4 separate regions of the Homo sapiens genome follow, and regions 1, 2 and 3 are each linked to region 4. The links are contacts of gene promoters, found by promoter capture Hi-C in blood cells and fetal thymus (Javierre and others, 2016). All regions are on one chromosome and are shown on one strand. Each heading gives the region's core, a stretch centred on a gene start or on the middle of the fragment in contact. The rest is flanking DNA. Distances are from core to core; before and after follow the strand shown. Region 1 overlaps BTK (Bruton tyrosine kinase). Region 2 has its middle 8.0 kb from the start of TIMM8A. Region 3 holds the start of GLA (galactosidase alpha). Region 4 holds the start of CSTF2 (cleavage stimulation factor subunit 2).

Region 1 (3,253 bases), core at 17-2,516, 550 kb before region 4:
GTATTACTTATTTGATCTTTGCAGTAGCCTTAAGAAGTATGTATTATTCCCCTATTTACAGATGAGGAAACTGAAGCTCAAAGATGTTATGCAACTTGCTCATGGGCACACAGTGAATGGTGGAGCCTGGATTCTTATCACATCCCTGTGTCTGTATGACTCCAAAGCCCAAGCTCATTGCATAGTTTTGCGCTGCTTGGTTTCCAAGTCCAGAAATTTCACATGTAGTTGGTTGCAAAATATTCTATAGTAAAGCTATGTTGAATATTACAAATAGGTGATATCCTGCAATACACAGTTCAGTTCTTGGCATATTTTAAGATAAGGGGTCTGCTTTAGCCCTGGGGCTACAAAATGAGCAAACTCTTTAATACTGCTTATTGTGATACAGGCTCTTCTTTAAGTTCTTTACATATATTAACTTTGTATTAACCATATGAGGCAGTTATCTTGTCATCCCCATTTTACAGATAAGAAAGCTGAGGTACAGAGAGGTTAAGTAACTTGCCCAAAGGCCCTCGGTTGGTAAATGGCAGGGTCAGGCTTTGAATTCAGGCCCCAGACTCCATGTCCTGAACCAATATACTATCTCCAGCCACAGAAATATTTGCAGAGACTGGGATAAGAGCTCTGCAGGACATGTATACTTGTACTTCTTTAGTTCTCTCCACAATGCCTCATACAGCGCCTTGCACACAGAAAGGGATCAGTAGTTGTGTTAACTGATTTATCTGTGGGAATAAACAACCATCACCAGCTTGGGCTCCACATCGATAAATGGCTAGGTTTTAGTCTGGAAATGGGGGAATGCAAGGCAGACTAGCTGAAGGAGAAATAAGGGAGAAACTGGCATGCTCAAGTTGGTAACTTCTTTACACTTCATATACTAATTTCAAAACCAGTCATAGTTTAGTCCAACAAATATTTATTTATTTATTTATTTATTTATTTATTTATTTATTTATTTATTTTGAGATGGAGTTTCGCTCTTGTCACCCAGGCTGGAGTGCAATGGCACGATCTCGGCTCACTGCAACCTCCGCCTCCCGAGTTCAAGCGATTCTCCTACCTCAGCCTCCCGAGTAGTTGGGATGACAGGCGCCTGCCACCATGCCCAGCTAATTTTTGTATTTTTAGTAGCGACAGGGTTTCACCATGTTGGCCAGGCTCGTCTCAAACTCCTGACCTCAGGTGATCCACCCGCCTCTGCCTCCCAAACTGCTGGGATTAAAGCATGAGCCACCACACCTGGCCCAACAAATATTTATTGAATGTCCACTATATTTAAGGGTGAGTAATGACCGAAGATAAGGATATCCAGCTTGTGAGCTTGTGAGCTTTCTTTTTTTCTTTTTTTTTTTTCTTGATATGGAGTCTCACTCTGTTGCCCAGGCTGGAGTAGAGTGACGTGATGTTGGCTCACTGCAACCGCCGCCTCCTAGGTTCAAGCAATTCTCCTCCCTCAGCCTCCCGAGTAGCTGGGACTACAGGCGTGCACCATCATGCCCGGCTAATTTTTGTATCTTTGGTAGAGACAGGGTTTCATCATGTTGGCCAGGCTGGTCTTGAACTCCTGACCTCAGGTGATCCACCTGCCTCGGCCTCCCAATGTGCTGAGATTACAGGCGTAAGCCACTATGCCCAGCCGAGCTTGGTTTCCTAACTCAGATGTTAACCTTACAATCTTGATTATGTGCTGCTTTTAAGGTTCATTAGCTAAGTAAATTCACAACAGGCTAAAAATAAAGCCAAAATAAATAAACAGAAACACCATCACTTCAGCTGGGTCATCAGTGTGATCAGGGAGTGTGGCTAGGCACATCTTTGCCTTCTCTTCCCTTATGTTTCACCAAAGGCATTTTTTTTCCCAGTAGTTCCACCTGGGTATAGTCTTGTTGAACCGTCCTGGGCTAACAACAAGAGCCAAAAAGTAGGCACCTTCTGACAAATACCATGATTGCTGGGAGATTTAGGTGCAAGTCCTAACAATCCCAGGACAGTCCCAGGTGCTGCCAATGTCAATAGTGAGTTAGCCTAGGAGCCACAAAATAATGATATTATTCCACTCTTTTTGTTTTTTTCTTGTTTGTTTTTATGTTTTTATTATCCTACTCTTGGGTAAAATGCACCAATAAGAAATCATTGACATGAAAAGGGGACCTCATGAGAATACTGGTTACCTTTGCAGGGATATTGACTGAAGAGGCATGAGGTGCTGGATCTCAAGGAGGTTAAATGGGTGTGGAAAAATATGGTTTGCTGTACACATTAAATCTGTGCACTTTATTATATGTAAATTATACCTCAATTTTATTTATTTATTTTTTTTTATTTTGAGAGAGAGAGTCTTGCTCTATCGTGCAGGCTGGAGTGCAGTGGCACAATCTCGGCTCACTGCAAACTCTGCCTCCTGCGTTCAAGCGATTCTCCTGCCTCAGCCTCCCAAGTAGCTGGGATTACAGGCGCTCACCACCACGCCCAGCTAATTTTTGTATTTTTGGTAGAGACGGGATTTCACCATGTTAGCCAGGCTGGTCTCAAATGCCTGACCTCAAGTGATCTGCCCACCTCAGCCTCCCAAGGCGTGAGCCACTGCACCAGGCCTATACCTCAATTTTAAAAGCATAGCCTCAGATACCTCATATCCAGCTGCCACATTTTCTCAATGGTGCTTGCCATGCAAAGGTTGTATTCCTGTGGGCTTAGCCACAGACTCTCTCTTTCCATTTCCTTAAATATGGCAGTGGGCCCTTCTATGTTCCAGCACCACAAATATTTGCCTATACTTATTCTTGAATCTTTGGTCAAGCTCAATAGAACCTATCCTAATTGCAAATTCAAAAGTAGGCAAATGACCTGACCTCACCAAAATGAATAAGAGAATAGCATTGGCAAATCTCCTACAAACAGTATGGAAAGGAATGATTCATGTATGCCTGAAACAGAATTTTAGACATTAACCTCATAAATATGGATAGAAAAGACCAGCCCATCAAGTGCTTGGAGAATATGTACTAACCATTAGTGCTTCCCAATAGGGGAATGTGCATTGGTGAAGCAAGCAGTCTCCCCCAGCCCTCCCACTTGTACACCCTGCTTTTGCAATCCTGTCCTAAGTAGCTGGAAATACCAGCTTTGGATTAGCCAACAAAAGAAGGGGTGTCATCTTCAAGGGACCTCTTAAGAGGCAGACATTATTTGAGAATGTAGGGAGGTTTCTTAATGAGTGTGCTAGGGGTGGGGAAGACAAGAA
Region 2 (3,225 bases), core at 579-3,078, 520 kb before region 4:
CTAAGGCTCATCTTCAAGCTTCCAGGTTTTACCAAGCACACTCTGAAAGTGAGTCTATGTATTAGGGATAACAGAAGGAAATCAAGCAAAAACTTGCTCTTTATTTACAATAAACTCCATAAGGAATTTGAATTCTAAAGTTAACAAATCAATGAACTCCATGTAAAATAGTCTTTACATGGAATAATGGAAAACAATCGATGGTCCTTTTCTTAAAAACCAATTTTTCCCCATTGTAATACCTTTTTTTTTTTTTAAGATGAGATCTCGCTCTGTTTCCAAGGCTGGAGTGCAGTCATTTCCATGTAGTATGTACTTTTCCCGAGTACTGCCATGACTCACTTGCCATTTTCAAGGAATAGCAGCCCACTGACTCAACACCCTCACAGACACACCCAGGATCAATACTTTGTATCCTTCAATCCAATCAGGTTGACACTCATTATTAACCATCACAAACTTCTTTATAAATTGTTATGGAATGAGCTCCAATACATATTGTTAAAGTTAAAAAGCAAGATTAAAGACTACCATTTGTGTAAAAAGGGGGGGGGATTAAAATATATGTATGCATATTTGCTTGAATAAGCATTAATTAACTCTTGAAGGATATTGTTAATATTGATTGCCTCTGGGGAAAAGAACTGGGTGGTTGGGGAGTAGGGGTGGGAGACTTTTTGCCATTTATCTTTTCTTTATGCCTTTTGAGTTTTGAATCATGTGAATGAATTACCTATTCAGAAAAATACATATTATTTTAAAAAATAACAAAATTTCTCTCCATTTCAGCACTATAAACTCTGTACTAAAAAGTGGGGATGTGTGATAGAAACCACTTTTAGGAATAAAAAACTTATATTTCAACTACAGTACTTTCAGATATCCCCTAGTCTCAAATAGATTCTTTTTTCTTTTTTTAACTTTTGTAAATTATTTTATTTCTTCCATGATGATTTAAATGGACTTTTTTTCTTTTTTTTTTTTTGAGACGGAGTTTTGCTCTTGTTGCCCAGGCTGGAGTGCAATGGCGTGATCTTGGCTCACTGCAACCTCTGTCTCCCGGGTTCATGCGATTCTCCTGCCTCAGCCTCCCGAGTAACTGGGATTACAGGCATGAGCCACCATGCCTGGCCTGACTATCTTCAAACAAGTACAAATATTTCATAAATAATATCTGGCCATTTCTAGCCAATTGAGTAATTTGTTGCACAATAAGCCACCTCACATCTTTCAGCAAGAAATACATTAAATTTGAATAATAAAGACATTACACAATGAATTAGGACACTTTTAAAATTTGTTTTAATTTTTATTAGGGGGAGGGGACAGCACACTTCTACTTAATGAAGAGAAACATTTTTACAGTCCAGAGGTCTTTTATGTTTTTGCACCTATTATGCTTGAATTCATAGGGGATAGGTTCCAGCAGCCCAGACTCCTTTCCATTGGTTCTCACAAAGTACACTTCTCTGGGTGGAGCAGCCTGGCACTTGAGTTGAACCCAGGTACCTCTCTTTTTGGCTTCCTTTTTCTGATCATTTTCCCTCATGCGTTTCAGGAAGCTATCTTGGCTCTTAGAGTGCTTAATGTACTCAATCCGCACATTAATTCTCTTGGCAAGAATCTTGCCCTTAGCTTCTTTGTTTACAACAATGCCAACAGCATGCTGGTTAACAGTGTAGACACAGTTTTGCCATGGTAACACTTATGGGACATTCCTTTTTGAATAGTACACATTCCCTCGATGTCTCTATATGTGTGTGTATATATATATTTTTTCTCTATATATAGAATATATATATAAATAGATATAGAAATATATATAGTCCATAATGAACACATATTTTTCTCTCTATATATATAGAAAAGATATATATATATATATATATATTTTTTTTTTTTGAGACAGAGTCTCACTCTGTTGTCCAGGCTGGAGTGCAGTAGTGAGATCTCGGCTCACTGCAAATTCCACCTCCCAGGTTCCAGTGATTCTCCTGCCTCAGCCTCCTGAGTAGCTGGGACTACAGGCACGCACCACCACGCCCGGCTAATAATATCGTCTTTCTTATAGATTTGTGTGTACATGGCCAAAGGAACAACTCTGTGTTTTCTTTTTTTTTGAGACAGAGTCTTGCTCTGTTGCCCAGGCTGGAGTGCAGTGGCGTGATCTTGGCTCACTACAACCTCTACCTCCTGGGTTCAAGTGATTCTCCTGCCTCAGCCTCCCGAGTAGTTGGGATTACAGGCATCTGCCACCACGCCCAGCTAATTTTTGCATTTTTAGTAGAGATGGGGTTTTGCCATGTTGGCCAGGCTGGTCTCGAACTCCTGACCTCAAGTGATCCTCCCACCTCAGCCATTTTCTGAAAGGCCTAGAGAACATCTATCTGGTGCCTCGCCTCTTACCCTTTGTGTTCGTCATTTTGGCAAATTACTGAAAGATGGCAGTTCCGGCCAAAAGGAAGCTCTTTTTTAAAAAAAGAATTATACTTCCCACACAACACTGGCATATCAAATAGGTTATTTACATCTAAGGACCTCTAGCAGGGCTGGGAATAGGGTAGGGTGAATGAGGCACTTGTTTCATGTGCAAAATTTAAGGGGGTACCAAAAAATTCAGTTATCAAGAGGAATAATTTTTTGTTTGTTTGGTTTTTTTTTTGTTTTGTTTGTTTTTTGAGACGCAGTCTCGCTCTGTCGCCTAGGCTGGGATGCAGTGGCACGTTCTCAGCTCACTGCAAGCTCTGCCTCCCGGGTTCACGCCATTCTCCTGCCTCAGCCTCCCGAGTAGCTGGGACTACAGGCACCCACCACCATGCCTGGCTAATTTTTTTGTATTTTTTAGTAGAGACGGGGTTTCACCGTGTTGGCCAGGATGGTCTCAATCTCCTGACCTCGTGATCCGCCCACCTCGTCCTCCCAAAGTGCTGGAATTACAGGCGTGAGTCACCACGCCTGGCCTGAGGAAAGATGTTTTAATGAAATATTTTAAAAATCAAATTAATGCAAAAGTCCATAATGAACAAAATATCAATATTTTTAATAAAGACAGGACCAGTAACAGTGCCATACTGAACCAACCATATCGGAGCCTGAGGCAAAAGGCAAAATACAAGTTCCATATACAGGCTTTTATGTATTCTTGAATAGTTAACTTTTTCCCGGAACATTACAGGAGTTGAAAAAATATTGAAAAATAGATAAATTATAACTCACAGCAATTAA
Region 3 (3,111 bases), core at 189-2,688, 590 kb before region 4:
ACTGGGCCTCTTGGAAACAAAGTACAAAGTGTAATAACGGCCATAAAACTACACTGAGGAAACGATTTAACAAACATTTACTGATTGCCGATTATGTGCCTAGCACACTGCATCTGCAGTGATAACAGTTTTCCTATTAACCATCCTAAGGTCTCAGTGACAGATTTACAAGCTGTTTTTTTATTTCATTTTGCAGGATTTTTTTTTTTTTTTTTGCTTGCCTTATCCCTGGGATAACCCGTCCCATTTAATTCCCTGCACCGCTCTATTCCTTAAGAGCCCTTCTGTAGGGGCAGAGAGGTTCTACTTCATTACTGCGTCTCCTGGGAAGGCCATCAGGACTGCTGGCTAAAGTGGGAACCAGGACTCTTTGTGAGTTAAGAATTTGTGTATTTATATGTGTGTTATACACATTTTTTAAAAAACTGTAACGACATCAGGTTGAGCAGTCGTCTCCGGGTGGTGAATTATGTGTATTTTTAAATTTTATACTATATTGTTATTTTTCAAATGTTCGAAATTGAATATGTAGATTGTTGTTATCAGCAGAAAAATAAACATTATTCAAATACTCTATTCAGTAAAGTAATTTATTGGGCGCCTTTGTCAAGCACGCATTTGCCTAGATGTGACTCTACAGATAAAATTCACTTGGGGCCTCCCCTTACAGACAATCAGGCAGTGGAGACTGAGTGCCTGAATGGATAGACCAGCACTCAGACCACTATTTTCAGTATCTGTTTTTCTTAACTCAGGGCCGTGGTTTTCAAACGTTTTTCGCCTTACGGTCACCCTTAGGGGTCCCCCGAGACCGGCCCAGACAGACAGATATACAAAAACACATACACAGTCATGAGCGTCCACCATTTCCCCACCAGGCGCAGCACAGGCGGCTTCCCGGCACTGAGATGGGGGGGAGGAGGGAGAGAGCGCGAGGGGGGAGGGGAAAGCAGAGAACGAAAGAGGCGGAGGCGGCCCCCGAACCCCGCTCTGGTCTTCATCATCACCACCCCTGGGTCCCCAGTTCCCACCCACACACCAACCTCTAACGATACCGGGTAATTTTCCTCCTTCTTCCCTCAAACGGCTATAGCGAGACGGTAGACGACGACCAGAACTACTTCTGCTCACGTAAGCGAGTAATCACGTGAGCGCCTACGTCATGTGAGATCTCGGTCACGTGAGCAACTCTCGGCTTAAACTCGGGATCACTAAGGTGCCGCACTTCCTTCTGGTATGGAAATAGGGCGGGTCAATATCAAGAAAGGAAGAGGGTGATTGGTTAGCGGAACGTCTTACGTGACTGATTATTGGTCTACCTCTGGGGATAACCGTCCCAGTTGCCAGAGAAACAATAACGTCATTATTTAATAAGTCATCGGTGATTGGTCCGCCCCTGAGGTTAATCTTAAAAGCCCAGGTTACCCGCGGAAATTTATGCTGTCCGGTCACCGTGACAATGCAGCTGAGGAACCCAGAACTACATCTGGGCTGCGCGCTTGCGCTTCGCTTCCTGGCCCTCGTTTCCTGGGACATCCCTGGGGCTAGAGCACTGGACAATGGATTGGCAAGGACGCCTACCATGGGCTGGCTGCACTGGGAGCGCTTCATGTGCAACCTTGACTGCCAGGAAGAGCCAGATTCCTGCATCAGGTATCAGATATTGGGTACTCCCTTCCCTTTGCTTTTCCATGTGTTTGGGTGTGTTTGGGGAACTGGAGAGTCTCAACGGGAACAGTTGAGCCCGAGGGAGAGCTCCCCCACCCGACTCTGCTGCTGCTTTTTTATCCCCAGCAAACTGTCCCGAATCAGGACTAGCCCTAAACTTTCTCTGTGTGACCTTTCCTGGGATGGGAGTCCGGCCAGCGGCCCCTGTTTCTTTCTCTCTCTCTCTCTCTCTCGTTCTCCTTCTCTTTCTCTTTCTCTTCTTTCCTCTCTCTTTCTCTCTCTCCCTGCCCGGTTCTCTTTTTTCACTGCTCCTTGCAGAGCAGGGCCACCCCATAGGCAGTGTGCCCAAAGTAGCCCTGCCCGGTTCTATTCAGACCCTTCTTGTGAACTTCTGCTCTTCCTCTGCCGGGTGCTAACCGTTAGAACATCTAGGGTGGGTAGGAGGAATGGGGAACTAAGATTCGTGCCATTTTTTCTCCTTTTGGGGTCGTGGATTTCTCGGCAGTATCTCGAGGGAGTTAGAGAGACCATAAGGTCGCTGAGATCTCTCCCACCTCGCCCATGAGCGTGGCATCAGGCTGGAAGGTTGACATGGAGGAACTTTATACATTTACACCTTTGCGTGAGGGTTGAGGCTGGATTAGATAGGTATTGAACATATCTGACCCTCACAATCCTTATCTGTAAATTGGGATTACAACCTTTTAATTTCAGGGAGCTGACAAAAAAAATCTGAAAAATAGTTCTTATCTCACACAGGTGAGTTTTCAAGGAGATAACCTATTTAAAGTACATAGCACAGCGCTTGACCATTCAACTGCGCTTACAGAGCAAATGTTCAATGGGAAAATGAATGTAAATCTACAAATCTGAATGAATATGTGTATTTTTCTGGAGAGAGGATATTTACCTTTCTTCAAATTCTCAAAGGGCTCTGTGATTTAAAAAAGGTTAGGAATCACTGATAGATGTTGGTAAAAGGTGGCAGTCACAGTACATTTCTGTGTCCATAAGTTATTCCTATGAATATCTTTATAGATAAAGTCAGGATGTTGGTCAGACATCACAGAAGAAATTGGCCTTGTAAGTTTCATGTGACCCTGTGGTACAGTATGTGTGGCAATTTTGCCCATCACGGATTTTTTTTTATTGGTATTTGCATCTGATTATAAAACTAATGCATGATCATTGCAAAAAATGTAGATAAAGAAGAGCAAAATGAAAATAAAGATTTCCCCCCACCGTTCCACCACCCAGAAATAATCATGGTTTAAATGTTAATATACAACCTTACAATTGTTTTCTATATAAATGAAAACATAGATTTCTTTATTTCATTATTTTCCATAAAAAATGGATCATGTTTATGTCATGTTTGGCTAATGGCAAGACCCTGGCACCCAGTCTGGGCTCAAATTCTGCCTCATTGTTACTTAGCCCTGT
Region 4 (3,339 bases), core at 100-2,599:
ATCTCAATAAAGCTGTTACAAGAACAAAATGTATGTGAAAAGTCACCAGTAAAGAAAACCTGCCATTATTACTAAGAGCCAAATCTGTGGTGATTTTTAAGAAGCTCCCACCATGAAGGAAAAGGGGATCTCACCTGAAACTAACAACAGGTCCAACCTCAGAAAAGATGTCCTTCAACTGCTCTTCAGTAGCTTCATAAGGAATGTTCCCCACTAAGGAAGAAAATAGGTAACATTAAAATTCTGAGTTTATAACATAGATCTTTAGTGAGAAAGTAAACTTATATCATCAAATATAAGACTCAAAATAGTGTTCTCCAATCCCAATTCCATTGTATTTCTTCAGACCTCTTAACAAAGGAAATATACCACTGAAACTAAATACAAAATGTGTAGGTACTCTCAAATGTTAGTTCTCAGACTGATCTGACACGTGTTAGATTTTCCTTAACTTTGGTGCAAATAAATACTTTGGCACTGGTATTTACCTAAAGATCTGCAAGTCTCATCAGTGACTACAAAAAATATCAATGTTATTTAATATAATTTTTAAAACAGGTTCCTATGTATTTCCACACATACAACATTTAAGGGAGAATGACGATGAATGTAGTGAAAGATGTTTAAAAAGTATTCTGAACTACTTTGTCATGTCCCTTTCAAATGGTACTCTAAAATAATCACACGTATTTTTAAAAACAACTTATTTCAGCCAAAAAGATAATTCAGAATCGTTTCGATCCTTTTTAAAATTCCTCTGAGGAGATCTTAATAGTTCATTCATTCATTCACTTACAAGCCATCTCAGGACACCAGGTGGCCGCTACCACTATTGATGCACTAAAATGTTACAGATAAAAAGCAAAGGATGAAAGTCCTTAGGAGAGGACAGTAAGTGGACACTAGGATCTATACCCTCAGCATATAGTCTGTATTCTGGGGCAGAGGATGAGAAGTAGTACGGGACAGTGAGGAGCTGTTACCGTGAGCCTTCTCCTCTAGAGAATAATTGAAGCTCATGAAAGGAGAAACGCACAGAAGCTGAACGCTAGTCTAACTTCCCCACTGATATTGCGGAAAGCCTACGAGACCTCGGCAGAATGGGAATATCTCTTTGCTCATGAGTCCACCAGGTTGGACGCCCTACAGGATAAGCAGGGAGAACTGCACGTCCGAACCGTCAGCGGCTCCGGTAGCGATTCATGAGATAGAAGGTGCAGAGGGGAGTCCCTCCCCGAAGCTTGACTACAACGAATTCCTCTCACCGAACACAGAACGTAGAGAACGATCCACCGCTGGGTCTCTCACAGTCAAACCCGCCATAGCTCTGTTGAGTCGGCTTCCGGTGCGCCAAAGCACACTTCCGTACGGAGCACAAGCCCAGCGCTGAGCACGCTTCCGTACGGCGCGTGAGCCGGAAGGGCCTGGGCGGAACGGACGCAGAGCCCCTCCCCTGGAGACATTCTGTTAGCCGCAGGCGCGAGTTGCGTCCACCGGAGGGCTATATTCTCACTCCTGAGATTAACTCTGTTCCGAGCCAGATGCAGGCGAGTCCAGGCTAATTTGAAGGGTTTCAGCCTGCAGACTTCCTTCTTATTAATTTTCTCTTAGGTTGATGCAAGTACTCCTCAACCACAATAAAGGCGCAGCGGCTTTACCATGGTAACAGGGAAGTCCTTTGCTGACAACTGTGGGGCTTGCATTTTAGTTCCGCCCTATCAAGGGAGGGAAATGCTTGGGCCCGTCCCAGCAGCGTGCATATTATTTGCTAAACCTGTTCGTGTGTGGAGTGAGATGAGGAAAGGGCATGCCAGCCGAGAGAAGCATAGTTAAAGAAATGGGAGAGGTAAAGGGAGAACAGACCTCTGTCCTCGTGTAGTCCGTGGGTTCCATGTGCTTCGTGGTGGGGCGGTGCGGCAGGGGATTCTGGCAGGCAGAGTATCGGAAACAGAAAACGTCATTCATCGGTTTTTCCACACTTTGGTGCCCACGCGCCTGGGATATGGCATGCAGGGCAGGTCGTTGTATCATCCCGGAAAGGCAGACCCTGCCGGGGTTGGAGGAAATCCAGGGGGCACCTCAGGAGGACAGGGTTAGGGGATAAGCAAAGGAAGGAGCCAAGAGCGCTACCTTTGAGGGACTTGTCCGAAAAAGGAAGACGGTAAAATAGCCACGGAATTGGAGGCATGGACGTTTTTATTAATTCCACATGTATTAAAAGTATATGGGCCGGGCGCGGTGGCTCATGCCTGTAATGCCAACACTTTGGGAGGCCGAGGCGGGCGCATCACCTGAGGTCGGGAGTTGGAGACCAGCCTGGCCAACATGGAGAACCCCTTTTCTACTAAAAATACAAAATTAGCCGGGCGTGGTGGCGCATGCCTGTAATCCCAGCTGCTCAGGAGGCTGAGGCCAGAGAATCGCTTGAACCCGGGAGATGGATGTTGCGGTGATCCGAGATCTGCCATTGCGCTCCAGCCTGGGCAACAAGAGCGAAACTCCATCTCCAAAATAAAAGTATATGAAATATGATAAATATTTAGAAAAAATTAATAAGTGCTAGTTTACACCATGAAGCATATCACTTTAAGAAGTAATTCTGGTAAAGATGGAAAGTTTGAGAAGAGTATACCCATTTCCATGACTCTAGAGTCCCATTTGCAATCACTGTGTGACCAAGAGGACACCTTGTGTAATGGAATGGTCCAAAAGGAGATTTACAGCTCTGTAGAAGGCACAGTTTCAAAGAGTTTTGGTGTGTCATTGTTCCGTTGTGGTGAACTTTTGCTAAATGCATGTACGGCTGAGTATATTTCTAACTCAGTGTTTGGCAAACTTACATAAACAAAAGATTAACCTGGGGTCTTTGAGTAAGAGTATAGATTCCTGGGGCTCCACCCCAGCCCTATGGAATGGGACTCCAGGGAAAGAACTTGGGAATCGTTATATTTAAACAAGTGCCACTGGCGATTCTTAGGGTCAGGTAATTTGAGTAGCATTGTAGTTATTGAGGTAGCTTTATGGCAGCATTTAAGACACGCATGCTTTCTTATGAAATTTCCCTTAAAGTAGTTCTCAAAGTTCTCAACCCTTGTGGAGGAGCATTTTTGGAAATGTACAGTGGCATTTTCAGTTGTTGCAATGACTACTGCTAGGGGAAGAGAAGCCAGAGATGATAAATGGACTGCCATGTCCAAGGCAGTTCTACAGGATGAACCCCTCCCCCCACTGAATGCCAATAATGTCTCTCCCCTTGAGAAACACTTAATATCAGCCATATTAGACCAAATGGACCCTGGATCTGAATGCTATGTTGCACTGCCAGCCTTGCATAAATAA

The links. Contacts are between HindIII fragments. The CHiCAGO score rates a contact against its expected background, and 5 or more counts as called.
Region 1: a fragment that was not itself captured here is called in contact with the fragment with the promoter of CSTF2 in region 4 in 1 of 17 cell types (total B cells); the score reaches 6.8 in total B cells.
Region 2: a contact is called between a fragment that was not itself captured here and the fragment with the promoter of CSTF2 in region 4, in 1 of 17 cell types (naive CD4 T cells). The highest score is 5.5, in naive CD4 T cells.
Region 3: a contact is called between the fragment with the promoter of GLA here and the fragment with the promoter of CSTF2 in region 4, in 2 of 17 cell types (non-activated CD4 T cells and total CD8 T cells). The highest score is 7.9, in non-activated CD4 T cells.

Annotation. Positions count from the first base shown.
Region 1 is chrX:101,365,356-101,368,608 of GRCh38, reverse strand. All of the region lies in intron 5 of BTK (Bruton tyrosine kinase), which reads left to right. Among named protein-coding and RNA genes, the nearest start is that of TIMM8A, 18 kb to the right of the region's middle. The HindIII fragment of the contact is 4,043 bases long and covers 1-3,253 here.
Region 2 is chrX:101,339,114-101,342,338 of GRCh38, reverse strand. It overlaps the pseudogene RPL21P132. Among named protein-coding and RNA genes, the nearest start is that of TIMM8A, 8.0 kb to the left of the region's middle. The HindIII fragment of the contact is 3,616 bases long and covers 21-3,225 here.
Region 3 is chrX:101,406,252-101,409,362 of GRCh38, reverse strand. GLA (galactosidase alpha) reads left to right here and starts at 1,438. Exons shown (of 7, transcript NM_000169.3): 1 at 1,438-1,653. The coding sequence starts at 1,460. The region is part of intron 3 of RPL36A-HNRNPH2 (RPL36A-HNRNPH2 readthrough); the gene reads right to left. It overlaps HNRNPH2 (heterogeneous nuclear ribonucleoprotein H2), which reads right to left and starts at 1,141. Exons shown (of 2, transcript NM_019597.5): 1 at 1,044-1,141. The HindIII fragment of the contact is 11,084 bases long and covers 1-3,111 here.
Region 4 is chrX:100,818,401-100,821,739 of GRCh38, reverse strand. CSTF2 (cleavage stimulation factor subunit 2) reads right to left here and starts at 1,349. Exons shown (of 14, transcript NM_001325.3): 1 at 1,266-1,349; 2 at 135-213. The coding sequence starts at 1,323. RefSeq lists enhancers at 1,118-1,277, 1,558-1,607, 1,618-1,677. The HindIII fragment of the contact is 13,366 bases long and covers 1,243-3,339 here.